Linked DNA regions of Homo sapiens: regions 2, 3 and 4 are each linked to region 1. The links are contacts of gene promoters, found by promoter capture Hi-C in blood cells and fetal thymus (Javierre and others, 2016). All regions are on one chromosome and are shown on one strand. Each heading gives the region's core, a stretch centred on a gene start or on the middle of the fragment in contact. The rest is flanking DNA. Distances are from core to core; before and after follow the strand shown.

Region 1 (2,700 bases), core at 180-2,679:
CCTCCCAAAGTGCTAGGATTACAGGCGTGAGCCACCGCGCCCGGCCTCAGAGTGGTTTTTACCCCAAAGTGAGCTCCATATTCCTCATTCTTTAGACAGTTGCTGGACATCTATTCTGCTGGCACCACGCTAGTTACCATTCCCCTCCCATGCAACTGTCCTGTTAAGATTTGATTACTGAATTAGAGACATTAAAAGGATTGAATGAACGTTACTGAAATAGTCAAGGCCGGTGGGAGCAAAGAAGTCCCTTCAGCACAGCAAGAAAAACATTTTAAGCTGTATCTTTAATATTGGTAAACGGGAACAATGAGACAGAACAACAGAAAACGCAGTATGTTCCGTCATAATAACTGAGGCTGGTGACTTGTAACAGGTAGGTGGATGAATATAGTAGCGTATTTAAAATTAGATGTATTGAAAGCAGGCATTTCTCTGCGTCCCTCTTCAGATGGGTCAGCGAGACCCCCAGACACTGGATTGATGACAGCTGTTGTTCCCCCACCCCCCACTCCCAATCTCAAAGCATTGCTATGGGTCGATGTCATACTTGTTTACTCAGGAATAAACAATGAAAGGAACTTTGTTAGGACCAAATCCTTCCTTTCAGCTCTGATGTTGCATGATCGGGGTGAAGTTTCCATCAAATGCGGGCACCTCAACAGGTAGCATTTTGTAAATGCCTCCTCCTACCTACCCTCCTCCTTCTCCCTCACAAGATTCTTCATTTTCGGTTTGAGAAGACGTTGGGGATCCTGGGAGAGGGTCCAGTGTCGTCAGGGCAGTTGCAATTGTTTATGCGATGAGCACAGTCACAGCGCTTGCAGAACAAAAGCATCGAAGAGAGGCGAGCGCCGGTCCACCTCCTGCAATCACAGGCATCATTTCAATGGAAGGCAAAGAAGGTGTAAGCTACAAGCAGAGGCAGCAAACGCCCTGGTTCCTACATTGCTGCTGCTACTATTACTGCTGTGGCTGCGCCTCCTCCAACACAGCCAACCAGGCTGCGTGCGAGCCCGGGCAGACGCCTGGCCGCCTCCCCACCCTTTCTTCCAGCCATCCATCTATCCTTCCACCCCCGGTCCAGGGGGCCCTACTGTGTGGCGGACTCAGGGCCGGGCACGCAACCCGACTCACAGTCCACGGAGTTCGAGAGCCTTCCCCCTTCCCCCCGCCCCGGGTGGGTGCGGCCAGTGGGGGATTTCACCGCCGAAAGGTCCAGAAAACCCAAGCCCAGAATCCGGGCAAGAGGCGCAGCCGGAGGCGGCCCGACCTGGGCGGCCCGGGAGCGCGCGCCTCCGAGGCCGCGCAGGTTCTCCCTGTCTGGCGCTCAGGTGGCTTCTCCGTCCACTCCGCCGCTCCCCTCCCCGGGCCCTCCCCTCTCCAGCGAGGGTCGAGTTTGACTGTGGCGCGCGGGGAAGGAGGGGCTACTAGGGATTTGAAAGTGCACGGGCTGCGGAGTGGAGCTCGCATCTGTTCCCGCCGCCCGCGAGCGGATTAAATTTCTGCAAATTCAAACTGAATGGGGCTTTCTTCTGCTGCCTTCCAGAGGGCGCCGGCAGCCCGCCGCGCGCTTCTCTCCGGCGGGAGCGGCCGCCCAGCGCACGGCTAGGAGCGATCGCGGGAGCCCGACCCAAGCCCGTGCGGGCCAGACGGCGGCGGCGAGGCGGAGGCTGCGGAGGCACCCGGGCTCCCGGACCCAGGCACCCGGACCCCGGGACCCAGGCGCCGCCGGACCGCGCCCCACCCCGCGCGCCCGAGCAGGGCGACTGTCATTAGCTTCCTGGACGGGACCCGGGGCGGGATCCTGGTGTCCTGAAAGGGGCCCGGGCGACCCTAAGAGGAAGAACTTTTGGGGGCGGGGTCCCCGGTCCCGCGTCCCCTGGGCAGCCGCTATTGTCTACGCGCCTCGCTGGGCGGCGCGGGGGGCGTGATCGCGGCGGCCCCGGGCTCTGGGTGCGGAGACCCAGGCGGGGCTGGGCCCAGGGCGGCGGCGGGAGAAGCCGGGGAAGCCGAAGAGCCTGGGGAGGAGGAGCTGCGAGCGCGGGAGACGAGCAGGAGCCGCGCGGGCCGCGGCGAGCGCGATGCCGGCGGCGGCGGGGGACGGGCTCCTGGGGGAGCCGGCGGCGCCTGGGGGCGGCGGCGGCGCGGAGGACGCGGCCAGGCCCGCGGCGGCCTGCGAGGGAAGTTTCCTGCCTGCCTGGGTGAGCGGCGTGCCCCGCGAGCGGCTCCGCGACTTCCAGCACCACAAGCGCGTGGGCAACTACCTCATCGGCAGCAGGAAGCTGGGCGAGGGCTCCTTTGCCAAGGTGCGCGAGGGGCTGCACGTGCTGACCGGGGAGAAGGTGAGTCTCCCGGGCGCCGTGGGGCTGGGGCACAGGGGCGGGAGTCGGCGGCCAGGACCCCGCGGGGAGCACTGCACTGGGAGTCCCAGTGTGCAGTCCCGGGCCAAGCGCCTTCCCCCTCCGCCCGGCTTTCCTGTTGGGTTAAAACGCGCGCTCAGCATCTCGCAGCCTTTCCCGAAGGCGGCCTGCGGTCCGCTGCCCGGGGGTTGGGGGCTTGGGAGGGGACGGCCTTGCCCCGGGAAGCGTCCCGCGCGGCCGTTCTGCTCGTGGAAGGGCGCCGCCTGGCGACACTAGCGCGGGGGGCGGGATGGGGCCCCTCTGCCCTTCAGGCCGGCAGGGGCGGCGGATCCGTGGC
Region 2 (2,700 bases), core at 50-2,549, 360 kb after region 1:
ACAGAATAATATTCATTTTGTGTATATATATAATTGAATATTATTCAGCCTTTAAAAAATACAAATATTATTCATCTTTGTGACAACATACATGAACTTGGAGGACATCATGCTACGTGAAATTAACCAGACACAGAAAGAAAAATGCTGCATGATCTCACTTATATGAAGAAATTTTTAAAGAGTCAAATGCATAGAAACAAAGAATTAAAACTGTGGTTACCAGGAAGGTGGAAGGAGAGGGAAGAAATGAAGAGATATAGGTCAAAGGAGACAAAGTTGCAGATAGGCAGGATGAATAAAACCTAGAGACCTAATGTACAACATGAGGACTATAGTTATAATATTATATTGTATACTGGAAGCTTGCTAAGAGAGTAGATTTTAGGTGCTCTCTACAGGGTATTAGAGTGAGCAGAGATGGAGAATCAATGGGAACCTGAAAATGATCATTTTACCTGGTCCAGCTTTGACATACACAGTGAAATTGTTTCTATTTGAAAACAGGAAAGGCAGTAGTCTAAATTCACTTAACCTCTATATTCTGGGCAAACAAATAATTGTCCAGTTTACAAAAGAGCAACAGGTTTCTTTAAATAGGCCAGTGTTTAATTGCTTTCCTGGATGAATTCCTTGTTTTCTGAATAAAGGCATGAGTCAATGAGTTCAATGAGTTCAGCTCAGTTCAGTGAGCACCACAGCTCTTTGCTATGTAAATGACCTATTTAGAAATGAATTGCATTTCTGAATTTTTCTCAGCAGCAGTTGTTTTTAACCAAGGTCTTGCACATCAATTGTTCTGTAATCTTCAGGGTTGGGATGGGGAGAGAAACAAAAGAAATAGCAAATTAATTGTACCGTGTAATCGTAAGAATCTACACTTTGAGGGTTTGCCATTTTGTTGATAGGAAAAAAAATTGCTATGTGCAGTGATACTGTAATCAAAATGACAAGCAATGGAAAAGGAATTTCAGGCATACTCTCCTGTTTTAAGCTGAAGCACAGAGAATAAAGTACGTAGCAGCCACGGCTTTGATTCTGGTCAGAATTACTCAGGTTTCCTCTCTACAATTGCTTAACCTTGGCCATCAAATTTTGTGCCACTTCTTATGCTACCATTGTGGGCATATGGAATCATCCTCCTGGGAGCTGTAATTCGTTTCATCTTATCTTGCAGGCAGGGGACCCTGATTTCATTACCAAGGTTGTAGGCACAAAATGGGATGGCTAGGGTTCACAATGACCCCCACCCCAACCATGGACTTGTTCTGCTCCCACTCTGCCCCTGGCCATGGCAAATTGATCCAAGGAGGAAGACGCTGGACTCAAACTGAGCCAAAATTAAAGGGGAACAGAAAGTAAAGGATATTCTACAAACACCTCACCAATACTCCTCAAAACTGTCCAGTCATCAAAAACAAGGAAAGTCTGAGAAATTCTGTCTAGAGAAGCCTCGGGAGATATGACTACTAAATGTAATGCAGTGCCCTGGATGGGCTCCTGGGGCAGAAAAATGATATTAAATAAAAACTAAGGAAATCTGAGTAAACTGTGGAATTTAGGTAATAACAATGTGTCAACATCCGTTCATTATTTGTGACAAATGTACCATAGCAGTGTTAACAATAGGGGAAATAGTACAGGGACTCTTTCTAATATTCTTGCAACTTTTCAGTAAACTGAAACTATTCTAAAATTATAAGTTGATCAAAAAGAAGGAATCAGAGAGACCAGAGGTGGTTGGAGCGGAGGGTTCTGGCCCCACCCTAGAAAGCAGTCCTGATGCTGAGGATGCTGGAGTGGCCCCAATTCCTGCTCAGCCTTACGGTCTTTCTTTGATCCCATGAGCTCCCTCAATGTGCTTCCCATAGTCCTAATGCCTAACGTGCTGAAGTTACCCAGGAATGAAATCTGTTGCTTGCAACCAAAGGTTCTTACCAGAAGCTCTGCTTCTGAGTCCTTAGGAAAGAGGTAGTGCCAGATCTCAATTTATAAGGCAATGGTTGGGCCATGATGTGGTGTGGATGTTTGTCCCCTCCAAATCTCCTGTTGAAATATAATCCCCAATGTTGAAGGTGGGACCCCCTCATGACTGGCTTAGCAGCATCCATGGTGATGAGTGTGTTCTCACTCGGTTCATGTGAGAACTGCTTGTTTAAAGGAGTCTGAGACCTCCCCCTTGGCTCTCTGGCTCCCTCTCTCATCATGTGACATGCAGGCTCTGCCGTGATTGGAAGCTTCCTGAGGCCTCACTAGAAGCCCAGCAGATGGCCGGCACCACACTTCCTGTACAGCCTACAGAACCATGAGCCAAGATAAAACCTCTTTTCTTTATAAATTACCCAGCCTTGGGTATTCCTTTATAGCAACACAAGAACGGACTAACAGTAAGCTGTAATGCAAATCTTATTCTGTAATTTTCATAACTTTCCTCAGTAAACATTTTACCAGAGCTCTTGAGACAGAGGAGCACCTATTTCATTCTTTCCTCTCCTCTCCTCCCAGCATGGGTCTCCACAGAGATGACCCATGCCCATGGCAGATATAGCTAATTGATCACAACACTCATTCCCTGAGCATGAATGCAGAGGAGTAGATGCTGTTGGTATTGCTCCCAGGTCCCTTTTATCACTAAGGGCACCCATTTCCTGGCTGCTATGAATGCCAATACTGGATACTCACAGCTGCCCCCACCTCCAC
Region 3 (2,700 bases), core at 47-2,546, 340 kb after region 1:
ACCAGAGTAGACACTCTGACATCCACCAGCCAGTGCTCCCCAGTGGAGGGATTGCTGTGTTAAAGGCTGTGGTCCCTCACTCCCATGGTGCCCACGCCCTTGACCCCACACCCCACCTCTCTTCTCTGAGGAACATAGCTATCAGGTCCACCTTGGAGGCCAGAAACCCCCATTCTCAGATGGGACATGAGAGGATCCACCACATTCCTCAGGAGGTTGATTCAGAGCTCCACATCTTGGCAGTTGGTGGGGTCTCATCTAGAGAGTGCATTGGACCTAGAAAATTCTGACAAAGTCACTTCCTTTGGCAAGAACCTTGGAGAGGCGAGAGCTGGGATGCAGACGGGTTGCAAGGGTCCCAGTCAGGAAGGTTTGGTGCTGCGCTTTCCAAACTTTTATACATATGTATGGTTGACTAGTGATCTTGTTATTATTTTTCTTCCATGAGCTCTTGGGTTTTAAAAGCTTTTTGTCTTCTTAACCATCTACATTTAGTAAGTAGTAGCCTATATGTTCTAATCACAGATTAAGGCATAATTTCCATTAAACTTTTAAAAATCTTGAAAAGAAGCACACAACTCCCATTACCATATTTCAAAATAAACCCTTGACAGTCTCTGGAGTCCAGATTGGAAAACAAGGATACAGAAATAACAGCAATGACAATAGCAATGTTACCTACAGCACAAGGAGCTCTGGGCTGAGGGACAGGATACCTGCAGCCCGGCCCTTGCCCTGCCACTCACTCACTGTGCCAAGCTAAGAAATGACTCACCTGCCCAGTGATCACAAGCCCCAGCCCCGGAGCCTCTGGTTTAACTGGGTCAGGGTGGGATTCCCCCAGGTAAGTCCAGTGTGAGTCAAGACCACTGGCTGGACAGGGTCTAGCTGCCCCAGAGAACACTCCAGGCTGAGTCTCCCGGAGCCAAGGGGACAAACTCAGGACTCTGTGAGAGGGAGGGCAATGGGACGGGGACATAAGCAAGCCAAGCTGCACCCAGGGCCTGTGAATGTTGACATCTTGTGGGCTCAGGCCACCTGGTGAGGCTAAGCAGGAGAGTGCTTGGCTGTTCTGACACTGTTCATTAAGCCAGGGACAGACAGAGACTAACGTGATTTAAAAGCCTCCAAAAGACACACTGCAAATCAGGGTCACAGCAAGGGCCAGCCAGCAGCCAGCTCAGGCTTGCCCTCTCTCCCTCTCACCCCTCCTTTCCCCCTGCACTCACCTTGTCTGAGCCAAATTGTTTTTCCACCAAAATTTACAGGGGTAGCACTGTGGGGAAACATTTGGGAGAGATCTCCGGCTGTGACCCACTGTTAAAAGCATCTCCACTGGCTATTGCTAAACAGAAAAGATTGTGGCTTCCCAGCAAGGCTGATTTCCCAGAAAACAGCCCTGGTAGGCCAAGGGGTAGGAACGCGAGGTAAGTGCTTATCTCCATGTGCTGATGTTCACTAGGGAAGCCAGGGACGGTCAGGATATCTCACCCCAGCTGAAATCAGATGACAAGCTGGTATCCATCTCAGAGGGAGCTCTAGAGGACAAGCAGAGGCAGGCTGAACATAGGTATCTTCTTTTTGTTGAAACACAAAGATAGCCGCTGCCTTTCTTTCTTGCCCTCTTACTCATAATTTTGTCCTGGAGAGGATCAGGAGGAGCCTCCCTGGATTATTCCAATTAGTCATTAGTCACTTGTTTCTCTGGTATGGGATAATCTGGTTCTATGATTACAGTGACCTAGAGTACCTGAACCAAAAACTGAGAGGCACATTTTAGTAAAAATTATTTTGGTGGGAGGTTTTTCCCACTATTTGTCATTCTATGAAAACAAAAAGTTTGCAGGCTAGAATACAAAAATTTAGATCATAACAAAAAGGTCTAACATTCTAAGATGAATTTCTAACACTCTGTGGTGCCATCACCATAAGAAGATGTGGGGGATGTTAGTGGATGTGGTGGACTAAAGACCTCTAAAACTCCTCTCCTCCATAAAAGCAACAAAAACACTAACCAAAAAAAAGTCAGAATCAAATTTTTCAGAAATTTAGAAATTAACCAAAGGCTTGCAACAATCTGAGGTGCATTTATTCAGTAACAATGGCTGAATCTTGGTAAAAAAATAGAAAGCTTTGTGGTATTTTAATTTGCCTATTCCCATCCCTTACCCGTACCCCCAGATTTGCAGTACTCTGGAAAACCAACAGCCCACAATCGCAGTGAAAAATCTCAAAAACCTAGTCTGACAGCCACTGGAAGGAGAAGAACAGTTCTGGAGCCCCCTCAAAGTTCCATTTCCAGAGAACTGTCATCATTCCACCTGTCTACTTTCCTGGAAGACCCCACCAACAATGCTGTCTTTATGTGATGTGACTCAGAGCTCTTCCAGTGCAAAAAGCCTTTTCTTCAGAGGATATTTGTCTAAAACAAAGCATCTTGACTGCCTGAGGCAGTAGATAGCAGTTGGGGCAAATAATAGGCCAACCAAAGAGCTTAAAAGGAAAAGCTGGAGAATGACTTGTTCAAAGAGAGCTTTTAAAAGCTCTGATATATTCCTGTTAATCTAAAATGCCACATATATGCATAGGACAGTAGGCATGCCCAGAGCTATATCATGCCCAAGAAAGACCTGAGAAGGGCTGGCTGACTTTGAAGCTCTGTGGAAGCAGGAAGTAAAGGCTAAGGCAGAGTTTTTAACT
Region 4 (2,700 bases), core at 81-2,580, 400 kb after region 1:
AATTTAGTATGTAATAGCACAGTTGGTACCTGGTACACAAATAGGACAAAAATGATGGTGATATCAAAATGGCTAGAGCTAGAGCTAGAAAGTGGAGAAGAAAGAGCACTTCGAAGGCAGTAAGGAAGGGTAACAAGCATCATCCTAGCTCTTACTGCTAATTAGTCCTGTGACCTTAGCAAAGTTCTAGCCTCCCTGGGCCTAACTTTCTTCAACTACCAAATGAGAAATGATCTGAGGTGGGTTTTCCAAATTTTTATGGCCTGCATGCCGGCACCACAATTTCTGTCACATCCACAAACCATCTGTACTATTACTAATTTATCTTAAATGGAGAAACTTTTTTTCTTTTTTTTTTTTTTTCACTTTTATGGAAGAGATACATAGGGCAAAGGTTACAGAAGGGGGACACAGAGCTTCCAAGACCTTTCTAGGTACACCACCCTCCCGGCATCTCATATTCACCAATCTGGAAGTTCTCTAAAACCCATGGGTTTTTTGGAGGTTTTATAACACAGGCATGATTAATTACACCATTGCTGATAATCTCTAGCCCCTCTGCCCTCGATGGAGGTAGGAGAAGAGGTTGGGGTAGGGCCAAAACTTCCAACCCTCTAATCATGCCTTGGTCCTTCTGGCCCCCAATCCTGAAGCTACATAGAAGCCCCCCAGCCACAGTCACCTCATTAGGATTAAAAACGACATTATTATCACTCCAGAGATTCCAAGCATCTTAGAAGCTCTTCTGTCAGAACTGGGGACTAAGACCAAACATGGTAACAAAAGATACCCTTATCACCCCATCACTCAAGAAATCGAAAGGGTTTTAGGAGCGACTAAGTATTGAATGTTTCTGTCCCCTACCACATGTATAAGTTGAAATGGTAGCTCCTAATGTGATGGTATTGGGAGGAGGGGTCATCAGGAGGTATTTGGTCATAAGTGCACAGAGTAATTTTTTTTAAATTGAAATATACTTTATTTGATAGGATACTCTAGCATCACTAAAAATGAAAAGCCAGTATTTTTAATACACATTAAAATATACACATAATTAATTTTTGTTTAACTGTGTACCACCTAAAGTTATTTCATACGCAAGTGTAAGATACAGTTTACATTTGCAGCAACAATTATATAGGGCAGCGCTTCCCACTCAGTTTGCTCAGGCGTCACTATGGCACATGGGTGGCAGGTATGGCAAGATATTTGTCCCCTCTACCCTTAAAGTGGCCACACAGGGCTTCAGATTGCTGGAGCTCCTGTGTTGTTTGCTCTTGCCACAAACAGCCTTGTCTGTTTACCCCAATAGGCTGTGTGTGTGACAGCAGCATTTTATGTGTGTGCCATAACATGAGAAAGTTGGGCAGCATTAGCCTAAGGCACCCTTTAACATTGAGATTTTATAATATAGGTATTTCCTTTTCTTCTTTTTTTTTTTTTTTTTTTTTTTTTTTGAGACGGAGTCTTTCTCTGTTGCCCAGGCTGCAGTGCACTGGCGATCTTGGCTCACTGCAACCTCCACCTCCGTAGTTCTAGTGATTCTCCTGTCTCAGCCTCTTGAGTAGGTGGGATTACAGGCCCGCACCACCATGCCCGGCTAATTTGTGTATTTTTAGTGGAGACGGGGTTTTGCCATGTTGGCCAGGCTGGTCTCGAATTCCTGACCCCCCGGTGATCTGCCCACCTTGGCCTCCGAAAGTGCTGGGATTACAGGCGTGAGCCACCGTGCCCGACCTTCTTTTTCTATTTTTATTTTTGATTTTCTTCAGCACCAAGCCCAAAGATCCAAAAAGGGAATGTCAGCATATGCTTTTAGAAATCTAGAAACTCTAACTTTTCAATATCTAAAGGTGACCACAACCACTCAAGAACTAACATATTCCTTTCTAAAACAGGATATAGAAAAAGCAAAAAAAAGAACTGATATATGCGAACGACTGATTTTTTTACTATCATGAAAAGTTTTATCCCAAGTAATCTTACTACTAGTAATGACCTTTTAAAGATTTTTATTAAAGAAAATTCTCTAACATATTCATATAAATACAGTTTTACTCACCAACCATTTTCCTTTTCACGTTTGGATAGCTTCTGTTCCTTATCCACAGAAACATTACAGGAAACACCTAGAAACAGAGAAAGTAACAATAATTTATTAATGTAGTTCGTTATAACATACCTGCAGACAGAGAGTTTCTAATCCAACTTTTTAGAACTCGGAGGACAAAAAATAAGCCCAAAGTCAAACACACAAAAGAGCGGTTTAAAACTAAATGTACTGGGGTCTTCTGGGAAAAGATAGCAGAATAAGAGTTATTTCCAACCAGGCGCAGGGACTCACACCTGTCATCCCAACCCTTTGGGAGGCCAAGGTGAGAGAATGGCTTGGGGCCAGGAGTTCGAGGTCAGCCTGGACAACATAACGAGACTCCATCTCTAAAAAAAAATTTTTAAATAAAAATTTAAGAAAAATTTTAAAAGGTTATTTCCTCCCTTTCCCTGAAAACCACTAACATTAATAGAATGGCTAAAATTAGAGGGGAAAATTCATTCCACAGTAAACTTGGAACAAGTAGAACCTCAAATCACACACTGCAAAGAATTATCTGCCAGATAGTGAAATTGGGTTCCAAACCTAGGAAGATGCAAACAGCCAACACATATATCTCCAGATTTCAAACACAGGGCCCATTTCTC

The links. Contacts are between HindIII fragments. The CHiCAGO score rates a contact against its expected background, and 5 or more counts as called.
Region 2: a fragment that was not itself captured here is called in contact with the fragment with the promoter of HUNK in region 1 in 2 of 17 cell types (endothelial precursors and M2 macrophages); the score reaches 7.3 in endothelial precursors.
Region 3: a fragment that was not itself captured here is called in contact with the fragment with the promoter of HUNK in region 1 in 1 of 17 cell types (endothelial precursors); the score reaches 5.6 in endothelial precursors.
Region 4: a contact is called between a fragment that was not itself captured here and the fragment with the promoter of HUNK in region 1, in 6 of 17 cell types (endothelial precursors, erythroblasts, M1 macrophages and 3 more). The highest score is 8.5, in endothelial precursors.

What each region holds. Positions count from the first base shown.
Region 1 is chr21:31,871,591-31,874,290 of GRCh38, forward strand. HUNK (hormonally up-regulated Neu-associated kinase) reads left to right here and starts at 1,430. Exons shown (of 11, transcript NM_014586.2): 1 at 1,430-2,345. The coding sequence starts at 2,085. RefSeq lists silencers at 1,548-1,597, 2,524-2,700. The HindIII fragment of the contact is 7,184 bases long and covers 1-2,700 here.
Region 2 is chr21:32,232,515-32,235,214 of GRCh38, forward strand. It overlaps a transcript of MIS18A not described here. Among named protein-coding and RNA genes, the nearest start is that of MIS18A, 45 kb to the right of the region's middle. The HindIII fragment of the contact is 1,872 bases long and covers 364-2,235 here.
Region 3 is chr21:32,214,060-32,216,759 of GRCh38, forward strand. It overlaps a transcript of MIS18A not described here. Among named protein-coding and RNA genes, the nearest start is that of MIS18A, 64 kb to the right of the region's middle. The HindIII fragment of the contact is 1,666 bases long and covers 464-2,129 here.
Region 4 is chr21:32,272,768-32,275,467 of GRCh38, forward strand. It overlaps MIS18A (MIS18 kinetochore protein A), which reads right to left. Exons shown (of 5, transcript NM_018944.3): 2 at 2,063-2,129. Among named protein-coding and RNA genes, the nearest start is that of MIS18A, 4.9 kb to the right of the region's middle. The HindIII fragment of the contact is 4,985 bases long and covers 1-2,700 here.